Regions from separate parts of the Homo sapiens genome. Here regions 1, 3, 4, 5, 6 and 7 are each linked to region 2. Evidence: promoter capture Hi-C in 16 types of primary human blood cells and fetal thymus (Javierre and others, 2016). All regions are on one chromosome and are shown on one strand. The core of a region is centred on a gene start or on the middle of the fragment in contact, and the rest is flanking DNA. Distances in the headings are between cores, read along the strand shown. Region 1 overlaps MIX23 (mitochondrial matrix import factor 23). Region 2 holds the start of POLQ (DNA polymerase theta). Region 3 overlaps CASR (calcium sensing receptor). Region 4 overlaps CASR (calcium sensing receptor). Region 5 has its middle 19 kb from the start of CSTA. Region 6 overlaps CASR (calcium sensing receptor). Region 7 has its middle 9.0 kb from the start of CSTA.

Evidence for each region. Contacts are between HindIII fragments. The CHiCAGO score rates a contact against its expected background, and 5 or more counts as called.
Region 1: a contact is called between a fragment that was not itself captured here and the fragment with the promoter of POLQ in region 2, in 8 of 17 cell types (erythroblasts, naive CD8 T cells, total CD4 T cells and 5 more). The highest score is 7.8, in erythroblasts.
Region 3: a fragment that was not itself captured here is called in contact with the fragment with the promoter of POLQ in region 2 in 1 of 17 cell types (neutrophils); the score reaches 6.5 in neutrophils.
Region 4: a contact is called between a fragment that was not itself captured here and the fragment with the promoter of POLQ in region 2, in 8 of 17 cell types (naive CD4 T cells, naive CD8 T cells, total CD4 T cells and 5 more). The highest score is 11.5, in naive CD4 T cells.
Region 5: a fragment that was not itself captured here is called in contact with the fragment with the promoter of POLQ in region 2 in 1 of 17 cell types (neutrophils); the score reaches 5.1 in neutrophils.
Region 6: a contact is called between a fragment that was not itself captured here and the fragment with the promoter of POLQ in region 2, in 4 of 17 cell types (naive B cells, total B cells, neutrophils and 1 more). The highest score is 6.4, in naive B cells.
Region 7: a contact is called between a fragment that was not itself captured here and the fragment with the promoter of POLQ in region 2, in 4 of 17 cell types (naive CD8 T cells, neutrophils, total CD8 T cells and 1 more). The highest score is 6.2, in naive CD8 T cells.

The regions. Positions count from the first base shown.
Region 1 is chr3:122,364,811-122,367,904 of GRCh38, forward strand. All of the region lies in intron 3 of MIX23 (mitochondrial matrix import factor 23), which reads right to left. Among named protein-coding and RNA genes, the nearest start is that of MIX23, 17 kb to the right of the region's middle. RefSeq lists an enhancer at 834-978 and a cis regulatory region at 899-912. The HindIII fragment of the contact is 6,376 bases long and covers 1-3,094 here.
Region 2 is chr3:121,544,726-121,547,544 of GRCh38, forward strand. It overlaps POLQ (DNA polymerase theta), which reads right to left and starts at 1,263. Exons shown (of 30, transcript NM_199420.4): 1 at 990-1,263; 2 at 2-181. The coding sequence starts at 1,152. RefSeq lists enhancers at 996-1,225, 1,117-1,411. The HindIII fragment of the contact is 11,524 bases long and covers 1-2,819 here.
Region 3 is chr3:122,269,067-122,272,027 of GRCh38, forward strand. The region is part of intron 4 of CASR (calcium sensing receptor); the gene reads left to right. Among named protein-coding and RNA genes, the nearest start is that of CSTA, 55 kb to the right of the region's middle. The HindIII fragment of the contact is 9,372 bases long and covers 1-2,961 here.
Region 4 is chr3:122,290,735-122,293,699 of GRCh38, forward strand. CASR (calcium sensing receptor) reads left to right here. Exons shown (of 7, transcript NM_000388.4): 7 at 1-895. Among named protein-coding and RNA genes, the nearest start is that of CSTA, 33 kb to the right of the region's middle. The HindIII fragment of the contact is 459 bases long and covers 1,118-1,576 here.
Region 5 is chr3:122,342,497-122,345,285 of GRCh38, forward strand. No RefSeq gene overlaps it. Among named protein-coding and RNA genes, the nearest start is that of CSTA, 19 kb to the left of the region's middle. The HindIII fragment of the contact is 9,676 bases long and covers 1-2,789 here.
Region 6 is chr3:122,252,308-122,255,303 of GRCh38, forward strand. It overlaps CASR (calcium sensing receptor), which reads left to right. Exons shown (of 7, transcript NM_000388.4): 2 at 1,641-2,067. The coding sequence starts at 1,883. Among named protein-coding and RNA genes, the nearest start is that of CASR, 70 kb to the left of the region's middle. The HindIII fragment of the contact is 1,292 bases long and covers 910-2,201 here.
Region 7 is chr3:122,314,876-122,317,608 of GRCh38, forward strand. It overlaps the pseudogene HNRNPA1P23. Among named protein-coding and RNA genes, the nearest start is that of CSTA, 9.0 kb to the right of the region's middle. The HindIII fragment of the contact is 2,649 bases long and covers 1-2,616 here.

The DNA of each region.
Region 1 (3,094 bases), core at 309-2,808, 820 kb after region 2:
AGCTCTTACTTACATCCTTGAATCCTCCCCGCACATGCCCCCCAGAAATAAGAAGTTATTAGGTATCAACTCCATTTTACAGATTCAAAATCAGACTTTTCAGAACAATTAATACACAAGGTTACAAAGCCACCAAGGTAGGTGGGATTTATTTCCTCAGAGCTGTCTGCCTTTGGATTATTTTTTAAAATTCTACAACATTGCAGATATTACAGCCAATTTCTAATACAATTTTATCAGTGCTACCAACAAACTGTCACCTTTGAGACAGTTGTCTTTGAGACTGTAGGTCTTCAACAGGTAAACTTAAGGCCACTAACATGTGACAGCAGTTATAGAGGTCCAGCAACGAAGGTGCTTTTTTTGAGTTAAATATTCAGGTAAACTAGTGGGGATTTTTTGACTGGCATCTGTCTATAAATGAAATATACTCACTAAAGTATCTGACTATTAGTCACAACTTAAAGAAACTGACTGAATGCAGGGTCAGAAGAGATGGGTTAAAGTCCCAGTTCTACCACTTACTAGCTTGTGGCTTTGGGGGTGTCAGTTAGTATCTCAAGTATCTCTGAGTCTTTTTCCTCAGATAGAAAATGAAGAGGTAGAGCTGTACCATCTCCAAGAGCTCTCTCTGATTCCATAATCTTCATAGCAAACTTGAAAATTGAAAAAAAAAATTCACATTTCCTTATTTGCTTATGTACTACCCCATGGTTACCCCCAACCCTATATGTTATCAAGCTAGAAAGCAAACCTCATGCAACTCACTGATTGGTTTCTAAACCCTCCTTGCAGTGGTCATCCTGGTGATTCTATCTGGGCCCTAAAGACACAAGGGCAGATCTCAAGGCTGAGCAAATTGTGTGTCACAATCATTCCCAAACACTCAGTAGAGTTTTGAACTTTGCTCTCCACTAATGAGTCACTCTGTTGTTTGACTTGATCTGCAAACAGTGACTTTTCAGTTTCCAATTTAACAGCCTTTGCCCTGCAGTTTCCTTTGTCAACACCTTCAAGGGCGTTGAAATACAAACTCCAAAATTACTAGACTTTCACCAGTTTTATATAAATTATCTATATGCCGGCTGGACACGGTGGCTCATGCCTGTAATCCCAGCACTTTGGGAAGCTGAGACGGGCAGATCACAAGGTCAGGAGTTCGAGACCAGTCTGGCCAACATGGTGAAACCCTGTCTCTACTAAAAATACAAAAAAAAATTAGCTGGACGTGGTGGCAGGCACCTGTAACCCCAGCTACTAGGGAGGCTGAGGCAGGAGAATCTCTTGAACCTGGGAGGCGGAAGTTTCAGTGAGCCAAGATTGCACCACTGCACTCCAGCCCAGGCGATAGTGCGAGACTCCATCTCAAAAATAAATAAATAAATAAATAAATAAATAAATAAATAAATAAATAATCTATATGCCTTCATGAACAGCAAGGGGAGTAAGATCAACATCACTGCATAAGGTCACTGTCCAAGGGATCCACCAGTGCCTGTGGCATGAGCAGGTATGGAATACAGACCTGACGCAGTAGTCATGAACAAAGAGAGCAGCAAAGACAGTGGCTGAGTCCTGGATCCAGTGAGACATCCAGAATTGGCGGAATGATCGAAAAAGTGCAGCAGCCTGGCCTACTCACCTTGTGTGCAGCCAGCTACAAGGAAAGAGGTTTCTTTTCTTTTCTACTAATAGTTTTCAATAGATGACGAGGTCCCCTTTTCAAAGTTCAGCTACATCTACTAAACAAAGGGCAAACTTCATGACTGTGCAGTATGAAAAGCATGACTCAATCCCACAAGGATCCGTAAGTCACCTATTATGCCATCTTAAAATACAAACATGAAGTCAGGTGTGATGGCTCACACCTATAATCCTAGCACTTTGGGAGGCTGAGGAAGGTGGATCACTTTGAGCTCAGGAGTTTGAGATAAACCCGTGTAACATGGTGAGACTCCATCTCTACCCAAAATACAAAAAATAAGCTGGGTGTGGTGGTTCGCGCCCGTAGTCCCAGCTACTGGGGAGGCTGAGGCAGGATTGCTTGAGCCCCAGAACCAGAGGTTGCAGTAAGCTGAGATTGCAACACTGCACTCCAGCCTAGGTGACAGAGTGAGACCCCATCTCAAAAAACAAAAAAAAAACCATGATTTTGATAATTGTACACTGGTCCTGTAGGAAAAGTCCCTGTTCTTAGAAATAACTAATGAGTTTAAGGGTAAAGTGGTACAATGTGTATAACATAGTCTCAAAATGGTTCATGAAAAAACTGTATTTATGCATACAGGTGTGTGGGGAGACAGGGAGAGGGAGGAAGGCAGGGAAGGATGAAGAGAAGGAGAGAGGGAGGGTGAAGAGAAGGAGAGAGGGAGGGTGAAGAGAATGAACTGTAAAGCAGGTGGGGCAACATATAAACAATAAGTGAATATAGGTAAAGGGCACATGGGAGTTCCTTACACTATTCTTACAACTTTTTGGTAAGTTTGAAATTATACAAGATAAAAAGTTACCCCCTAAGAGTCCCCTCAAAAGAAAGACAGCAATAAATCCCACATAATAAAATATGCTGTATTTTTCTATTGTTTCCTTGACACGTCACATACAAGTGCTGTAAAGAAACAGTTCTGCTGCATTAACTGTATTCTGAAGTCTACACCCTATCTACATTATAGTTGATTTGGGAAAATAAGGCTTCCTCTGACACATCCCTAGGTAGGTACTTGCTATTTTCTTAAAAGTAAAAACACTGCAGGGATAGGGGAGGAAATGGGAAAAAGTCATGTCCAAGAAAAAGCCAAAGATCCCTAGCAACTTTTACACAGTAGGGAAATAAATTATAATGAGGTACAAGTAAATCTGGTTATATTTAAATCATACTATATTTTTATGGCTAACGAGGGTAATATCCTGAAGTTAAATAGTCTATATTACATTTCAGCAGATTTCTACACAATGAAACTGGAGCTATTTCCAAAATATATTAGAGATGTTTTTCTCAGGTTATGTCTCAAAAGGCAGATACTGTACAGATGTGATTTCCCCAGAATTTCTGATGTGGTACTTCACCTGTAGTGATCCCTTGTCTTTAATAGTG
Region 2 (2,819 bases), core at 13-2,512:
CCTGAATAAACTAAATTCTTTCCTTCCAGGACTTGTCCAAGCAAAAGGCACTCTGCCTGCCATTCAAACATCTTTTTTACACCAAAACTGTGGTATTTTTCCAGAACTGCTTTAGGAAGTCCCCAGTTTGCCAATAGTAGCTTGTCTCTTTCGTAGTCAGGAACTGTAGGCTTGCATTCTCCTTTTAGGAAAAAGAAAAAATTAAAATTTAATTTACTTCTAATATATGAGTTTTACAGTTAGCCCTTCACCGTGTGTTGGAATTCCTATGTGTTGAAATGAAGCTCTTTAAAGCACATCCTGACTTCAAGAATCTTATGAGAAATTGACCATGTATAGAAAAGTAATAAATTGTTATTTACTGCATATAATAAAAATTCCTTAAAAGCCTCAAACGAACAAAAAAGCGTGCAATACACAGTAGATAAAGAGTGTTGGAATTACGGGTGTAGTTGGGGGAGGAGGGCAATATGCAAGCATTACAAAGCTAAGTTAGGTGAGTTTCTATTTATAGTAAGTTTTAGTTCCATGACGACTGCACAACTAACGATTTTAAAAAACTGGGTCGACATCCACGGGACACCCAACCAATCTCATTACGAATCCCTTCCAGCCTTCCCCTGGACGCCGAACAGCCTGTGCCGTACTCCAGGCCCAACAATCCTGTCTTAAGGGTCTGTAAGGAGTACTGGGTACTACCAGGAACGAGCCGCCCAACAGATGATGGGATGAAGCTAACTAGGAAGTTGTTTCTCTAAAGGTCGAAAGATCCAGAAGCCACGTGAACATTAATACCAGGCGATCACTGAAAACACGCGTATGTCTGAACAGAAAGTGACCTGCCACACCAGGCCCCAGTCACAGAGAAGGGGAGTAGAAGCCCAATGGGGTATGCAACGAAGCAAGTCCCGTGGGGTGAGGACACCTCCCGACCCATGGCCCGGCGGAGCTGCCCCCGTTGCCCGCGGCCTCCCGGGTTCCTGGAGCACCTGCAGCTGCGGCCTTCAGGCAGCGACCAAGGCCGGGCGGCGGGCTCAGCACGGACCCGGAGAGGAACTGGGGGCTGGCACTGCTGTCACCGCCGCTTCCCGAGAACGAATCTGAGCCTGATTCTGAACGCCGCCGTTTCCCACTCCGACGCAGAAGATTCATGGCAAACTCTTCTCGGCCGATCAGGGCAAGCCACAGTCCCAGCGTCCTCCCTCTCGGGAGAACCCTGGCCTGGCAACAGCTGCGGACATCTTCCCGCCAGTCTTCAAACTCAAACCTCCCGGCCCGCCCCGGAACCATAGAGTTCTCCGTGGCTTAAGTAACCCGAAAGCCATAGACTCGTGGGGAAGGAGCGGCTCTCGCTGGCGTCTAAGACTTCCGGCCTCCAACCTCCTGGTTGGTTAATATGAGAGATAGATTAAAGAGGAAGAATACAGAATCTACAGTTATAACCATACTGACCTAAAAGCCTTCCTTCTCCTTTTGTCCATTTCTGGTTTGAATAGGAAGGCCATGCTAACTTCATAAAATGGGCTGCCCATAATAGGTAGATCAGGGAAGTAGCTCTTCTTAACGTATTGGTATTCTGTAAAAAATTATTTCAGATTGAGAAGCATTATGCAAGATAGCCTAGGGTTTCTAATAGAGCATAATTTCCTCCTTTCTCCTAGTATATGATGGTAGGGCAGGGCTATTTCTGAACACAATTTCCATTTTAGCCAGCATGCATTGTGAGGAATATGTAATGAGGAATTGGGGATTGCTGGCTGACAGACCCCTGAGACACTATATGAACGCCGCGAGGAAGGGGCTCTGAATATACCCCAGGGATCGTTATGAGCCAAGAGCTTAGTAATGCATCTGTGTTGTCCCTTTTGTAAAGGTAGAAGCGAACGAGTTCTGAACGTAAAACGGTGACCATTCATTACCTAGTTGCATAATTCATTTCACCAAGCAAAACTAGTAGGCCCTAAGCCTGACCTGAAGAGGCTGTGCAGTTCTAGAGCACTAAAAATCTCAAAAGGTCCAGTCCAATTAAAAAAAAAAAAAACACTCGAATACAATCTGGAAAATAGCATTCGAACCATCAATTCCTTCCGTGAAAACATTTTTTTGATTTAAATGACAATATTCTAAAGTTCCACGAGATGGCGACATTACTCCGTGAATGAAACATTTTTCTCTTGGCCTTTTACGCAATCAACAACTATTTACTGAGTATCTACTGTAAGCTAGCCACTGGGTAAATGGCAGTGAAATGGCATAAAATGGTTCCTGCTCTCAAAGAGAAAGAGTCTAGAGAATAAGGCAGACATTAAACAAGTCAGTTAATGAAGTGTGCCATATGCTTGGGCAGAAATGAAGAGTACTATTAAAGAAATAAAAGAGATCTCGCCGGCCGTGGTGGCTCACGCCTGTAATCCCAGCACTTTGGGAGGCCGAGATGAGTGCATCACCTGAGGTCAGGAGCTCTAGACCAGCCTGGCCAACATGGTGAAACCCCGTCTCTACAAAAATACAAAAAATTAGCCGGGTATGATGGCGGGTGCCTGTAATCCCAGCTACTCTGGAGGCTGAGGCGGGAGAATTGCTTGAACCTGGGAGGCGGTGGTTGTAGTGAGCCGAGATCGCACCACTGCACTCCAACCTGTGCGACAAAGAAAGACTCCGTCTCAAAAAAAGAAAAAAAAAAAAAAGAGAGAGAGACCCCTAGATTGCAGCCAAGAAAGAACTTTCTCAGATGCAGTGTAACTTAAGGGTTAACAGTGCAACTCTGGAGTCAGTCAGTCTAGGTTTGAAACTTAGTAGCTGTGAGATCTTGGGCAACT
Region 3 (2,961 bases), core at 55-2,554, 720 kb after region 2:
AGGAACAATTTATTAGCCTAATTTGTACTAATAAATATGCCTAAAAGAAGAAAAGAAGCAACTTTAAAAAAATTATTTTGGCCTTTTTATTTGTTTGCTTGTTTTTGTTTATTTCAGTTTAGAATTTAGATCATATTTTCAATCTTACTCGGCCTGATTCAGCCCAATTGAACTGGTTAGAACTCCCAGTATAATCTTGTATAGATATAGTGAGGACAGACATTACTGTCTGCATCTGATCAGGGGGAAAGCATTCAGTCTTTTACCACTGAGTATGATGTTAACTTTCATAGATGCCCTTTATAGAGTTGAGAAAGTTCCCTTTTATTCCTATATTGCCGAGAGCTTTTATCAGGAATGGAGGTTGGATGTCATCAGTGCTTTTTCTGTATCTATTCAGAAAATCATGTGGTTTTTCTTTTGTAGTATGTTATTGTAGTTGACCATCAAACCAACCTTTCGTTCCTGGGATTAATCCTACTTGGTCATAATGTATATTCCTTTTTGTACATGTATTTGTGTGTTTGATTTACTAAAATTTGGTTAAGAAATTTTGCTTCTATGTTCATGAGGACTATTGGTCTAAAGTTTTATTTTCTTGTAATGTCTTTGTCTGGTTTTGGTGTCTGGGTAATGATGACCTCAGAATGAGTTTGGCAGTATTGACTTCTTTTTTGATGTTCTGTAAGACTTTTGTAGAATTGGTATTAATTCTTCCTTAAATCTTTGGCAGCACTCATCAGTGAAGCCACCTTTAGTTGGTTTTCTTTGTGGGATTGTTTTGTTTTGTTTTGAGATGGAGTCTTGCTCTGTCACCCAGGATGGAGTAAAGTGGCATGATCTTGGCTCACTGCAACCTCCGCCTCCCAGGTTCAAGAGATTCTTCTGCCTCAGCCTCCCGAGTAGCTGGGATTACAGGCATGCACCACCACCACCAGCTAATTTTTGTATGTTTAGTAGAGATGGGGTTTCACCATGTCGACCAGGCTCGTCTCTAACTCCTGGCCTCAAGTGATCCACCCACCTCGGCTTCCCAAAGTGCTGGGATTACAGGCATGAACCACTGTCCATGGCCTGTGGGAAAATTTTGAACTGAAAATTCAATTTATTTAATGGATAGAATGCTATTTAGGTATATATGAGTCAGCTTTGATAGTTTGTCTTTCAAAGACTTTGTCCACATCGTCTAATTTGCCAAATTTACTGGCATAAGTTTATTTATAATATTGTTTACAATGTTCTCAGACTATAATTATAATGTCTGCAGCATCTGTAGTGTTGTCACTTCTCGAATTTATCATATTGTAAATATGCATCTTCTCCCTTTTTTCTGATCAGTCTGGCTAGAGATCCATCAACTTTATTAATCTTCTCAAAGAATCAGCTTTTGGCTTTAGTGATTTTTCTCTATATTTTTGTTGTCTGTTTCATTTATTTCTATTCTGATCTTTGTCATCTCCTGTCTTCTGATTTATTTCAGTTTAATTTGCTCTTCTTTTTGTAGTTACTTATTTGGAAACTGAAGTCATTGATTTAAAAACCTTTCTTTTCTTATAATATAGACATTTACTGCTATAAATTTCACTATAAATATTTTATTAGCTGCATCCCTCAAATTTTGATATGCTGTGTTTTCATTTTAATTCAATTTAAAATACGTTCCAACTTTCCTTTTGATTTCTTCTTTGGCTCTCAGGTTTAGAAGTGTGTTATTTGGTTTCCAAGTTTCCAGTGATTTTTCCAAACATTTTTCTGTTATTTGTTTTTAATTTAATTCCATTGGAGTCAACATATTTTGTTTGATTTTAATATTTTTAAATTTATTGAAACTTGCTTTATAATCCAGAATATGGTTTATCTTTATAAATATTTTGTGTTCTTGAAAATAATGTATATTCTGTTGTTGGGATGACTGTTCTGTAAATATCAATTAGATCAAGTTGGTTGATAGTACTGTCCAAGTCTTTTAAGTCTTTTATATTTGTATTGATTTTCTGCCTACTTCTTTCAGCTAATACGAATGCCCTATTGACCTTATTTTTCTCATTTATCCTCAGACTGATAAAAACCTCATCATGGGCATGACTTGTCCACATAGTCATGCTGGACACCTACAGGTTTAATATCTATTCTATTAATTATGCACTCAAAAGACAAGGTTTGAGTATCCACTAAAATCTAGGCCCTCTACAAACCACTGGAGATACAGAAGGAAATAAGGCAGTTCCTGCTTTAGAGAAGTTTGGTCTAATGAAGTGTGGGTACAACATTCCTAGCCACAAAGATTCCAGAGTGCTTCCTTCTCCAGATAAGATGTTTACATTGCCATCTCTTCCCTCCTGCCTACTCTTTATCTCCCTGCCACATCCGAAGTTGGACTTGCCATGTCTCATTACTCAACTCGCTACACCAAGTATCCTAGAGGCTACCTTGTTATCAAGGATCCTGCCAACTACAAATGTCGGTTTCACTAATTAATTCATATTTGGATTTTTAAAGTCCTTTTCCATGCCTTCTTTTTTGCAACAGCTTTATAAGATGTAATTCACATGCCATACAATTCAGTCATTTAAAGTATACAATTAAGTGGCTTTTAATACATTCACAGTTATGCAACCATAACCACAGTCAATTTTAGAACATTTTCACCACATCAAAAAGCAACCTCATATCCTCTAACTGTCACTCCCTAGGCCCCCAAAGCCCCAGTCTTAGACAAACACTGATCTACTTTCTGCTTCTATACATTTGGACTTTCCTGGATATTTCATATAAATAAAATCATAAAACATATGATCTTTTGTGACTGGCTGCTTCTTCCATATTGTAACATGTATCAGTACTTCATTCCTTTTTACAGCCAAATAGTATCCCATTGTGTGGATATACCACATTTTATTTATCTGTTTACCCAATTGATGAACATTTGGATTGTTCCCACCTTTGGTTGTTATGAGTAAT
Region 4 (2,965 bases), core at 97-2,596, 750 kb after region 2:
TTTTTTTATTATACTTTAAGTTTTAGGGTACATGTGCACAACGTGCAGGTTTGTTACATATGTATACATGTGCCATGTTGGTGTGCTGTACCCATTAACTCGTCATTTACCATTAGGTATATCTCCTAATGCTATCCCTCCCCCCTCCCCCCACCCCACAATAGGCCCTGGTGTGTGATGTTCCCCTTCCTGTGTCCATGTGATCTCATTGTTCGATTCCCACCTATGAGTGAGAATACGTGGTGTTTGGTTTTTTGTCCTTGTATTAGTTTGCTGAGAATGATGGTTTCCAGCTTCATCCATGTCCCTACAAAGGACACGAACTCCTCATTTTTTATGGCTGCATAGTATTCCATGGTGTATATGTGCCACATTTTCTTAATCCAGTCTATCGTTGTTGGACATTTGGGTTGGTTCCAAGTCTTTGCTATTGTGAATAGTGCCACAATAAACATATGTGTGCATGTGTCTTTATAGCAGCATGATTTCTAATCCTTTGGGTATATACCCAGTAATGGGATGGCTGGGTCAAATGGTATTTCTAGTTCTAGATCCCTGAGGAATCGCCACACTGACTTCCACAATGGTTGAACTAGTTTACAGTCCCACCAACAGTGTAAAAGTGTTCCTATTTCTCCACATCCTCTCCAGCACCTGTTGTTTCCTGACTTTTTAATGATCGCCATTCTAACTGGTGTGAGATGGTATCTCATTGTGGTTTTGATTTGCATTTCTCTGATGGCCAGTGATGATGAGCATTATAAATGAAGATTGCTTGGTAGTGGACTAATGGATAATTGTTTCTGCTTCTTTAGGATTTTCTAAATTTTTCCCAAGTTTTGTATATTAAGCACAAAATTATAACAGGAAAATAAAGAAAAGAATTTAAAATAAACATGCAACCAAATTTTAAACAGATAAGCATATCATATTAGATAGGAATCACCATATTGGGTCAGTCACCCCTCCTACAAATTTTTCCAGAGCTCTAATTAGCTCCCAAGAGTTTCATGGGACTTTTAAATTTCTGAACGGGCCGAGGACATAGAATAGTGGAAAAGAGGGGGATTCTAGGCAGTATGACAGATAAGTTACACGTCTTTGGATGAGGCACTTAAGCTTTCTTTGTCTCACTTTCCACTATGAAAAGTACATAGGCCAGGCATGGTAGCTCATGCCTGTAATCCCAGCACTTTAGGAGGCCAAGGCAGGAGGATCATTTGAGGTCAGGAGTGTGAGACAAGCCTGGGCAACATGGTGAAACTTCATCTGTACAAAAAATACAAAAAATTAGCTGGGCATGATGGCATGCACCTGTAATCCCAGCTACTTGGGAGGCTGAGGTGGAAGGCTCCCTTGGGTCCAGGAGGCAGAGGTTGCAATGAAGCAAGATGTAGCCACTGCACTCCAGCCTGGGCAACAGAGCCAGACTTTGTCTCAAAAAAAGAAAAGTAGATAGACTATTACCTGCCATAATTACCAACTATGGTTGTTTGCCAAATAAAACAAGTGATTTGAAAGGAACTTCAGGAATATAGGCAAAATATAAATAATTATTAAAACCATGGGTGACTGAAGCTTAGAGAATTTGCTTTTGAAATCTCAGGAAGTACCATGGAATGCAATGATTTCTTCTGTCAGGTTTCTTAGTTGGAGGCAATAGAATTCACTCTAACTAGTTCAAGCAGAAAGGTACTTGTTATATGGTATTAGGAAGCTTATAACATTTTGGGAGGCTCAGTGATCCAAATTTAGTTGCTATACAATCAGGATCAATTCACCCAGGAGAAATACCTAATCCCCCTATGAGGGTGTTCTGGCAAAAGCTTCATAACCTCCCCTGCCTTCCACTTAGCACCAAGACACAGAGAACAGGACACTGGAACCTTCACTGAAGCTGGAGGAACCAAATCCCTCTGCCTGTGCTTGGCCCCACTCACACCAACTTTCCAAGTCTCATATCAGCCACATGCAGAGCCCTGGCTGTCAAGGAGTCTGGAAATGTAGCATTTGTTTCCCAGCCTCTATAGTGGAGGAAGACCTGCTAGAAGAGGGTCAGAGTGGCTACTGAACAAGCCCGTCCGCAGTGTCTACCACCCCAAAACAAAGATTTTTAAGATCAAACACAACATGAAAAACACACTCTCTTAAGAAAAATATAAGCAAAATATGATTTATTTTTATCTCCACAGCTGTGGTAGATCCACAAGATGCTGTGCTGGAGGCTGAACTACACCTGGCATTTTACTATGAGGGAGAACCTGCTGGCAGAGGAGATGGAAAGACAGCGGGAACTTGCACTGCAGGGGAGGGTGCTACAGGGGAGTGTGGCAACAAGTGTGTTTTATTATAAGCCAATTAGTACTATTTGTCTTTTTAAATAACACACATATGTTTGTATGTGTGTCTTTGTGTGTGTTGGTGTTGTATGGTAACCCGACCTGATAGTAATAAGTTAACAAGAAATGACGGTTTCCAGATGGAGGTTGCTGGGGGGAGAGTGCTAAGTGAACATGCTATGCGAACTGCATGCTTTTTACAAGAGGTTGAGGTTCTCCCATCCAGTCCACCACCACTGAACTGCCCTGTATTTAAGTCCCCTTCAGGAAACCCTGTGCCTGCTTTGCTGGCTCCAGGTCTCTTCTTCAGCCTCTTGAACCTGGTGCCATCCCTACTGCAGTTAATACGGGTCCAGTACAACAAGTGTCTATTTAGTAGCCTGGAGAAAATGCATAATGATTTAATAGTGATTATGTCTGGGTGTTAGAATTATTAGTGATTTGTATTTTCTTTGTAATATTTTTCTGAGCTTTTGTTCCTTAATTTCTTTCCATGAGCGTAATGTATCGTAAAACAAGAAAAATCTGTCACTTGAGTTCTCAGATAGGACAATATTATGGTCATGTTTTTGGTTTGTTCATTTGTTTAAGCTTTTATTTGGACATAATTTCAGACTTACAGAAAA
Region 5 (2,789 bases), core at 244-2,743, 800 kb after region 2:
AAATTGCCAGGTCGCAGTGGCTCACGCCTGTAATCCCAGCACTTTGGTAGGCCAAGGCAGCAGGATTGCTTGAGGACAGGAATTTAAGACAAACCTGGGCAACATAGCGAGACCATGTCTCTACAAAAAGAAATTAGAAATTAGCTGGGCATGGTGGTATGCACCTGTAGTCCTAGCTACTTGGGAGGCTGACGTGGGGGGATGGCTTAAGCCCAGGAATTCGAGGCTACAGTGAGCTATACTCATGCCACTGCACTCCAGCCTGGGTGACAAAGAGAGACCGTGTCTCTAAAAAAAAAAAATTAAAAATAAAATTAAACAATTAAGAAATTAACACTGATACACTGGTAGCATCTAATCCCCAGACACCATTCAAATTACCCCAATTGTCCCAATAATGTCATTTATTACAAAAAGATCCAAGCCAGGTGAGGTGGCAAGCACCTGTAGTCCTAGCTACTCAGGTGGCAGAGGCAGGAGGACCTCTAGAGGCCAGGAGTTCAAGGCTATGGTGTGCAATGATCGTGCCCATGAGTAGCCACTGCATGCCAGCCTGGGCAACATAGCAAGACCCCATCCCAAAAAAAAGATCCAATCCAAAATAACTTGCTCCATTTAATTGCCATTTTCCTCTTATTTAATACCTTCATTGAGACATAAATTGAAACATACAACTTACCCATTTAAAGTGTACAAGTGAATAGTTTTATACCACATTCACAAATGCGTGCAGACCTCACAAAATTTTAGAACATTTTCGTCACCTCAAAAAGAAGTCTCATACCTGTTAGCTGTCACTTCCCCAGCCTCCTCCACACATAAGCAACAACTCAACTCCTAAGCAACAACTAATTTACTGTCTAGATTTGCCTGGTCTGGACATTCATACATGTGGAATTATATAATATGTGGTGGTCCTTTGTAACTGCCTTCCTTCACTTAACATAGTTTTCAAAATTCATCAGTGTTGTAGCACGTCTCAGTATTTTATTCCTTTTTATGGACAAATATTCCATTTTATCAATATATCACACGTTGTTTATTAACTAATCAGTTGACAGATATTTAAGTTGCTTTCACCTTTTGACTATCAGGAACACTGCTACTATAAATATTTGTGTACAAGGTTTTGTGTGTACATAGGTTTTCATTTCTCTTGGGTATATACCTAGGAGTAGAATTGCTGGTTCATACGGTAACTAACTCTATGTTTAATTGTTTGAGAAACTTACAGACGGTTTTCTGAAGTGGTCACACCATTTTACATTCTCACCAACAGTGGATGAGAGTTCCATTTTCTCCATATCCTCACCCACACTTGTTATTATCTGAATTTTTTTAAGGTTAGCCATCTTAGTGGATGTGAAATAATAGCTCATTGTGGTTTTGATTTGTATTTCCCTGATGACTAATGCTATTGAACATCTTTTCATGAGATGATTAGCCATTTGTATTAGGCTGATGCAAAAGTTAGTGTAGTTTTTGCCATTTAAAAATAATAACAAAAAACATAATTACCTGTCTTAGTCCATTTTCTGTTGCTTATAACAGAATATCTGAAACTGGGTAATTTATAAAGAAAATGAGTTTATTTATTACAGTTATGGAGGCTGAGAAGTCCAAAGCTGAGGGCCAGGCACAGTGGCACATGCCTGTAATCCCAGCACTTTGGGAGGCCGAGGTGGGTGGATCACCTGAGGTCAGGAGTTTGAGACCAGTTTGACTAACATGGTGAAATTCCATCTCTACTAAATACAAAAAATTAGCCAGGAGTGGTGGTGCATGCCTGTAATCCCAGCTATTTGGGAGGCTGAGGCAGGAGAATCACTTGAACCCAGGAGGCAGAGGTTGCAGTGAGCTAAGATCGTGCCATTGCACTCCAGCCTGGGCAACAAGTGTGAAACCCTGTCTCAAAAAAAAAGAAGTGCAAAGTTGAGGGACCACATCTGGTGAGAGCCTTCTTGCAGGTGGCGACTCTCTGCAGAGTCCTGTCCTGAGGCAGCACAAGCATCATCACATGGCGAGGGGGCTGAGCATGATAGATCAGGTCTCTCTTCCTCTTCTTACAAAGCCACCCGCCCCACTCCCATGATAACCCATTAATCCATTAATCCATGAATGGATTAAGCCATTCATGAGGGCAGAGCCCTTATTATTCCATCATCTTTTAAGGGCCCCACCTCTCAATAGTACCACATTGGGGATTAAGTTTCAACATCAGTTTTGAAGGAGTCAAATATTCAAACCACAGCATATATTCTGAATACAGGCCCCTTATCTGATATATGATTTGCAAATACTTTCTTCTCATTTTGTGGTTATCTTTTCAATCTCTTGATGGCATTCTCTGAAGCACAAAAGTTTTTAATTTTAATGAAGTCCAAATTATCTATTTATCTTTTTGCTCCTCATGCTCTTGGTATCATAACTAAGGATCCTTTGCCAAATCCAAACTCATAGTGATTTACTCCCCTGTTTTCTTCTAAGTGATATGTAGCTTTAGCTCTTACATTTAGGTCGTTTGTCCCTTTTGAGTTAATTTTTGTATATGGTGTGAGGTAAGTGTCCAACTTCATTCTTTTGCATGTGGCTATCTAGTTATCTTAGCACCATTGGTTGAAAAGATTTCTTTACCCCATCGAATTATCTTGGCACCCTTGTTGAAAATCAGTTGATCACAGGCACGAGTTAATTTCTCAACTCTCAATTTTATTCCATTAATCTATATATCTATCCTTTTGTCAGTACTACACTTTTTTGATTACTGTTGCCTTGTAATAAGTTTTACA
Region 6 (2,996 bases), core at 306-2,805, 710 kb after region 2:
GAAAAAGGAAGAGAGAAAGAAAGAGAGAGAAAGAAAGAAGAAAGAAAGAAAGAAAGAAGGAAGGAAGGAAGGAAGGAAGGAAGGAAGGAAGGAAGGAAGGAAAAAGAAAGAAAGAAAGAAAGAAAGAAAGAAAGAAAGAAAAAAAAGAAAAGAAAGAAAAGAAAAGAAGGGAGGGAGGGAAGGAAGGAAGGGAAAGAGAGAGAGAGAAAGAAAGAAGGCGGGGAGGGGAGGGGAGAGGGACAAAGAAAAAGAAAAAGAAATAAATGATGGTGGACTAAAAATAATCTTGGAAATGGCGAGGAGTAAATGGATTCCAGAGAGAATTAAGAAGTAGAATCTACAGGGCTTAGGGATTGTGTAAATATGAAGGACAATGATGAGAACAGAAAGGAGGAAAAGATGGCTCCTTATTTTGTGTCTCTGTGGATGGCATGTAATCTTCTAAGATAGAAAACAGTGAGGGAGAAACAAGTCCAGTAGGGAGGTAAGTTTAGGGCCTGTTAAATTCAAAGAATCTGTGGAACATTCATGTGGCAGTGTCCAGTTGGCAGTCCAGTGCTTGGCCCTGAGCCTCAAGACAGGCTGGATATTTAGCCCCATCAACCTGTAATTGGTAATTGACTCACAGGGTGAGTGAGATAGGGTGCGGAGTGAGAAGAGCAGAGTTCCTACTCTACTAATCATAGTATAGCAGGAGGGCTTTCTCCTATATCCAGCTGTTGATCTTTGTAAAACACAATCTAATCCATGATTTCTCTGAATTTCGTATAAGAACTGTTCTTAAAAGGCTTACAGGGTGTCATATTACAAACTGAAACCAGAGACCTGCACAAAAAAAGGAGACTATCATAAAAAATAAAGAATAAGTGGTCTTTTCCAACATTTTTGTTTGGTTCAAAGTCAGATTTAAGCTTAAATATGACTCATTCTCTATTTTCTTTCTTTTTTTCTGAGACAGAGTTTCACTCTTGTTGCCCAGTCTGGAGTGCAATGGCACGATCTCGGCTCACTGCAACCTCCACCTCCCAGATTCAAGCAATTCTCCTGCCGCAGCCTCCCAAGTAGCTGGGATTACAGGCGTATGCCACCACATCCAGCTAATTTTGTATTTTTTTAGTACAGACAGGGTTTCACCATGTTGGTCAAGCTGATCTTGAACTCCTGACCTCAGGTTATCCACCTGCCTCAGCTCCCCATAGTGCTAGGATTACAGGCGTGAGCCATTGCACCCAGCTTCATTCTATATTTTCTATAAGAACTTACATGCTGAATAAAATATCTCTAATATTATTATAACAAAAGGAGCTTCTGCTACTAATAGGCCAAATTTATGCCTCATTCACACAGGAAAATGAATGGATTAAAATCCAGCATCAGCACCAGCAGAGGTCTTAGGTTATCAAGGGCCTCTTTAAAATTTGACCTCTCATAACCTAACATAGTTCTTCCCCAATATGGGCAATTGACGTTTCCTGTATTTTACATGAAGTGCTATAAAAATGTGACTCCAAGCCAGGCCTTTTCAGTCTGCCACCCCTAGGCCCCTCTAAATGGAAATTCTGAGCCACCTTAGTTGCAGTGGTCATCACAAGATGGGATTGAGGTTTAGCTGAATCCATTTTGTCTTTCTTTTCTTTTAGAAGGCATCACAGGAGGCCTCTGCATGATGTGGCTTCCAAAGACTCAAGGACCACCCACATTACAAGTCTGGATTGAGGAAGGCAGAAATGGAGATTCAAACACCACGTCTTCTATTATTTTATTAATCAATCTGTAGACATGTGTCCCCACTGCAGGGAGTGAACTGCTCCAAGGGAGAAACTTCTGGGAGCCTCCAAACTCCTAGCTGTCTCATCCCTTGCCCTGGAGAGACGGCAGAACCATGGCATTTTATAGCTGCTGCTGGGTCCTCTTGGCACTCACCTGGCACACCTCTGCCTACGGGCCAGACCAGCGAGCCCAAAAGAAGGGGGACATTATCCTTGGGGGGCTCTTTCCTATTCATTTTGGAGTAGCAGCTAAAGATCAAGATCTCAAATCAAGGCCGGAGTCTGTGGAATGTATCAGGTAAGAAGAGGGGCCTAATCTGCCAATCTCTTCTCTTCTGAGTGGTTGGAGAAAAGCTGCACCAAACGCAAAATAATTTTTTCAAACTTTGTCCTATCTTTTCAAGAATAGTGATTGATTGGTAATCATGCTGAAGCTTATTGCCCCCACAACCTGCCTTTTTTTTCCTGAAGACTTCTTTTTAAATAAAATGTCAATGATATTAAGTAGAAAATCCATGCATGGCCTGTTAAAGCACCTGGTGGTCATTTGGTGACCAAGTTATCATCGTTCACCTGGCAGCAGTGTTGCTTAATGGAAGACTAAGTACCTAGAAGGAAATTTATTGCAGGTCTTGCAAACCTGAGTAGTAAAATCCCCCATTGACCTTACATGCTCCAATGGATAGTAATACCTGAGTGCTGGCTGCCTCACTCTTTTTCTTTTTTTTCTTTCTTTTTTTTAAGGCATTTAAGTTGAAAGAAACCACAGTAGTCAGCATGACCCAGGCATCTTCAAACTGTAAAATGTAGTCCATAGCATTTTGGAACTACTGCCATCAAAAAGTCTTTTGCATAGGAAGGTTATCCCCCCTTGCCACCCTCCCCACCCCCCATCCACCCTGCCAAGAATGCATCTCACTCTCTCAATAGATTCTCTCTGTGGCCACTTGAAGAGAGCTAATATGTCTCATCAAATATTTTCTTCTCCAAGCCACATAGTCTGTTTTATCATCATTTTCTCCATGATATGCTTTCCAGACCCGTCATCATCCTGGTTGTCCTCCATCTGATGCCCCCTAATTTACTGCGACCCTTTTAGAATATAGTCTCCAGGGTGAGGCACATCTCTTTAAATGGGATCTGACTTCTGCAGAATATGGTTGGGACTGTTTATCACCTCCCCTAATCTACACTGGAGACTGACTGTGCTCCAAATCTTGACCCATC
Region 7 (2,733 bases), core at 42-2,541, 770 kb after region 2:
GCCACTGGGATTGTTGAGACCACTGGTTTCTTTGTCCTGAAGAGAAGAGAGAGGGAAATGATTGCTGCTACACTCACTTTGAAGTGAGAAAAGTTGCGGGTGGCTGAAAATTTTACTCTGAAAAGATGCTGGGTAGCTCTTTGTTCCTACAGCCCTGCAAACTATGCTCCTGATACAGAGTGGGGCAAGTGGGGCGGGAAAGTGCTGGGAAGGGAAAGGCGTAGTCCCTCGCTGGGGATCCAGCCCCAGACCTGTGCCCACAGACCTTGGTGAGGATGGGCATTTCTGTTCTCATGCCCAAATATTGCATTTCCCACGACCACCCTGGGCTGCCATACCCCTATCTTGTGCCTATAAAAACTCCAAGATCCTAGCGGGCACACACACAAGCAGCTGGACATCAAGAGGAACACACCAATGGTTGAGGACACAAGCGGCTGGAAATTGAGAGGAACACACCCGCGTAAGAGCACACCCACAGGCACTGACAGATTTCGGCAGGCCATCGACTGGTGGAACAATGCAGAGTTTGGCTGGGGTGGTCGGAGAAGAGCCCAGCTGCCCGGAAGCCCGATTGCAGGGGAAAACCACCTTCCCACTCCAGCCCCCTTCTGGCCTTCCCATCTACCTCGCTGAGAGCTACCACTCAATAAAAATCCTTACACTCATTCTCCAAGCCCACATGTGATCTGGTTCTTCTGGTACACCAAGGCAAAAACCCCGGGATACAGAACGCCCTCTGTCCTTATAAGGCAGAGGGTCTAATAGAGCTGATTGACACAAGCCACCTACAGACAGCAAAGCTAAAAGAGCACTCTGTAACACACACCCACTGGGGCTTCAGGAGCTGTAAGCATTCACCCCTAGATGCTGCTGTGGGGTCGGAGCCCCACAACCTACCCTTCTGCATGCTCCCCCTAGAGGTTTGAGCAGCTGGGCACTGAAGAAGTGAGCCACTCCCCCTGTCACACGCCCTGTGAGGGGGACAAGGGAACTCTTCCCGTTTCACTCCCACCGCTCACCCTCTATGTCCTGGCACCCAGAGGGGAGCCCTAGGGCAGGCACACCCCCAGCCTTGTTGGCTTTAGTTATGTTCATCCCATCTTCCATCTTCATTCTCAGTGCATCTGCATAAGCCTCATTGAAGTTAGCCAAGTCCAGGACCGTAGAAGCACATATGGGTTAAATAATCCCCTCACATTCCAATCCCAGCCTTCCTTTCGCCTAAAGCATCTCCATCCCTAATTCACTGCAAAGTACTAACCTCTAACTCACGGAGGCTCAGAACTCACCTTTTGGGGATCTCCTTATGGCCTCACTCCCTGGCTGTTACTGACAACCAGCCCCAGTGGAAAGCCAGAGCACTCTGTGGCCAGAATGAGTTTTTTAAATTTGCCTTGTCTTGGCTACAATTTTTGTCACTTTTTACAATAAAAAAGTTTTTCCTGTACTTTTAGGAATTTTCTATAGCCAGAGAAGTCAAGGATGGCCAAGAAACTCCAAGTGACTAGAATACCATGACCCCAATAATTAGTATGTGGTTAGCTAAGAGATGTAAATTCATATGTACATTATACTTTTTGAGAAATAACTATCGGCTCAATTAAAGATAATCATTAAAGAAAATTTAATGCAGACTGTGTATACGTATTTGAGACAGGGTCTCACTCTGTTGCCCAGGCTGCAGTGCAGTGGTGTGATCATAGCTCACTGTAACCTTGAACTCTTGGGCTCAAACGATCCTCCCGCCTCAGCCTCCTGCAGAGCTGGGACTTACAGGTATGCACCACCATGACCGGCTTACTTTTTTTGTTTGTTTTTTGTAGAGACAGGGTCTCACCAAGTTGCCCAGGCTGGTCACAAACTCCTGCCCTCAAGCAACCCTGCCACTCTGGCCCCCTAAAGTGCTGGGATTATAGGTATGAGCCCCTGCTCCTAGATGAACTGTATATTTAAAAAGAGTTTATAATCTAGAGAAAATGTAAGTAAATATAAATAGTTATGTTTAGATACATTTTTGTTAAGTTCTCAACACTTCTCTAGAATTATTTACTCCAACATTATTTTTCCCATATTATAAAACTTCCTCCTGCCTTGTGCAGCAACTTCTGAACTGCCACCCTTGCCAACTTCAGGCTGTTGAAATGGATACAGGCAGGTTCCTAGAGAAGTATGGGAGTAGAATAGACTCTTGTGGTTTAACAAATCAGAACAAGTTTTTAAATCAAAGAAACACCAGTTTTACAGGTAAACTGAGAGGTGATCATCTAATTGATGTGATGCATAGATGCTATAAACCACCTTACTTCCCAAAATGTATTTGTTCACCTCATCCATAAAATTTCACCATTCTATTTCTTCATCTTAAAGCACTTACTCCGTCAAAATGTAGATACCCATAAGATTTTTTTATGTGTACCGTTTTGCAAAAGATTTGCAGTCTTTTCTAAGAGTTCATTCTATTTTTTTTTTCATATCCTTTAGACTCAGTAAGAGTCCATTTAAATAGATGACATAGGAAAAGTAGAAGAGGACAGATACATCTATGGGGATTGGGGAAAGGATGGAAATCTGAGAGCCTGATGGTTTTGGCTTCAGCAATCCATAAATTCATTAAGCTTGGAACTGCTTTACCAACAGAAGAATTATATACACAGATTCATCCATTAGCTAAGTCTTTTATGCCAATGGACACCGCCGAAGAAGCATAAAGTCTCTCTTCCCACTGCTGTC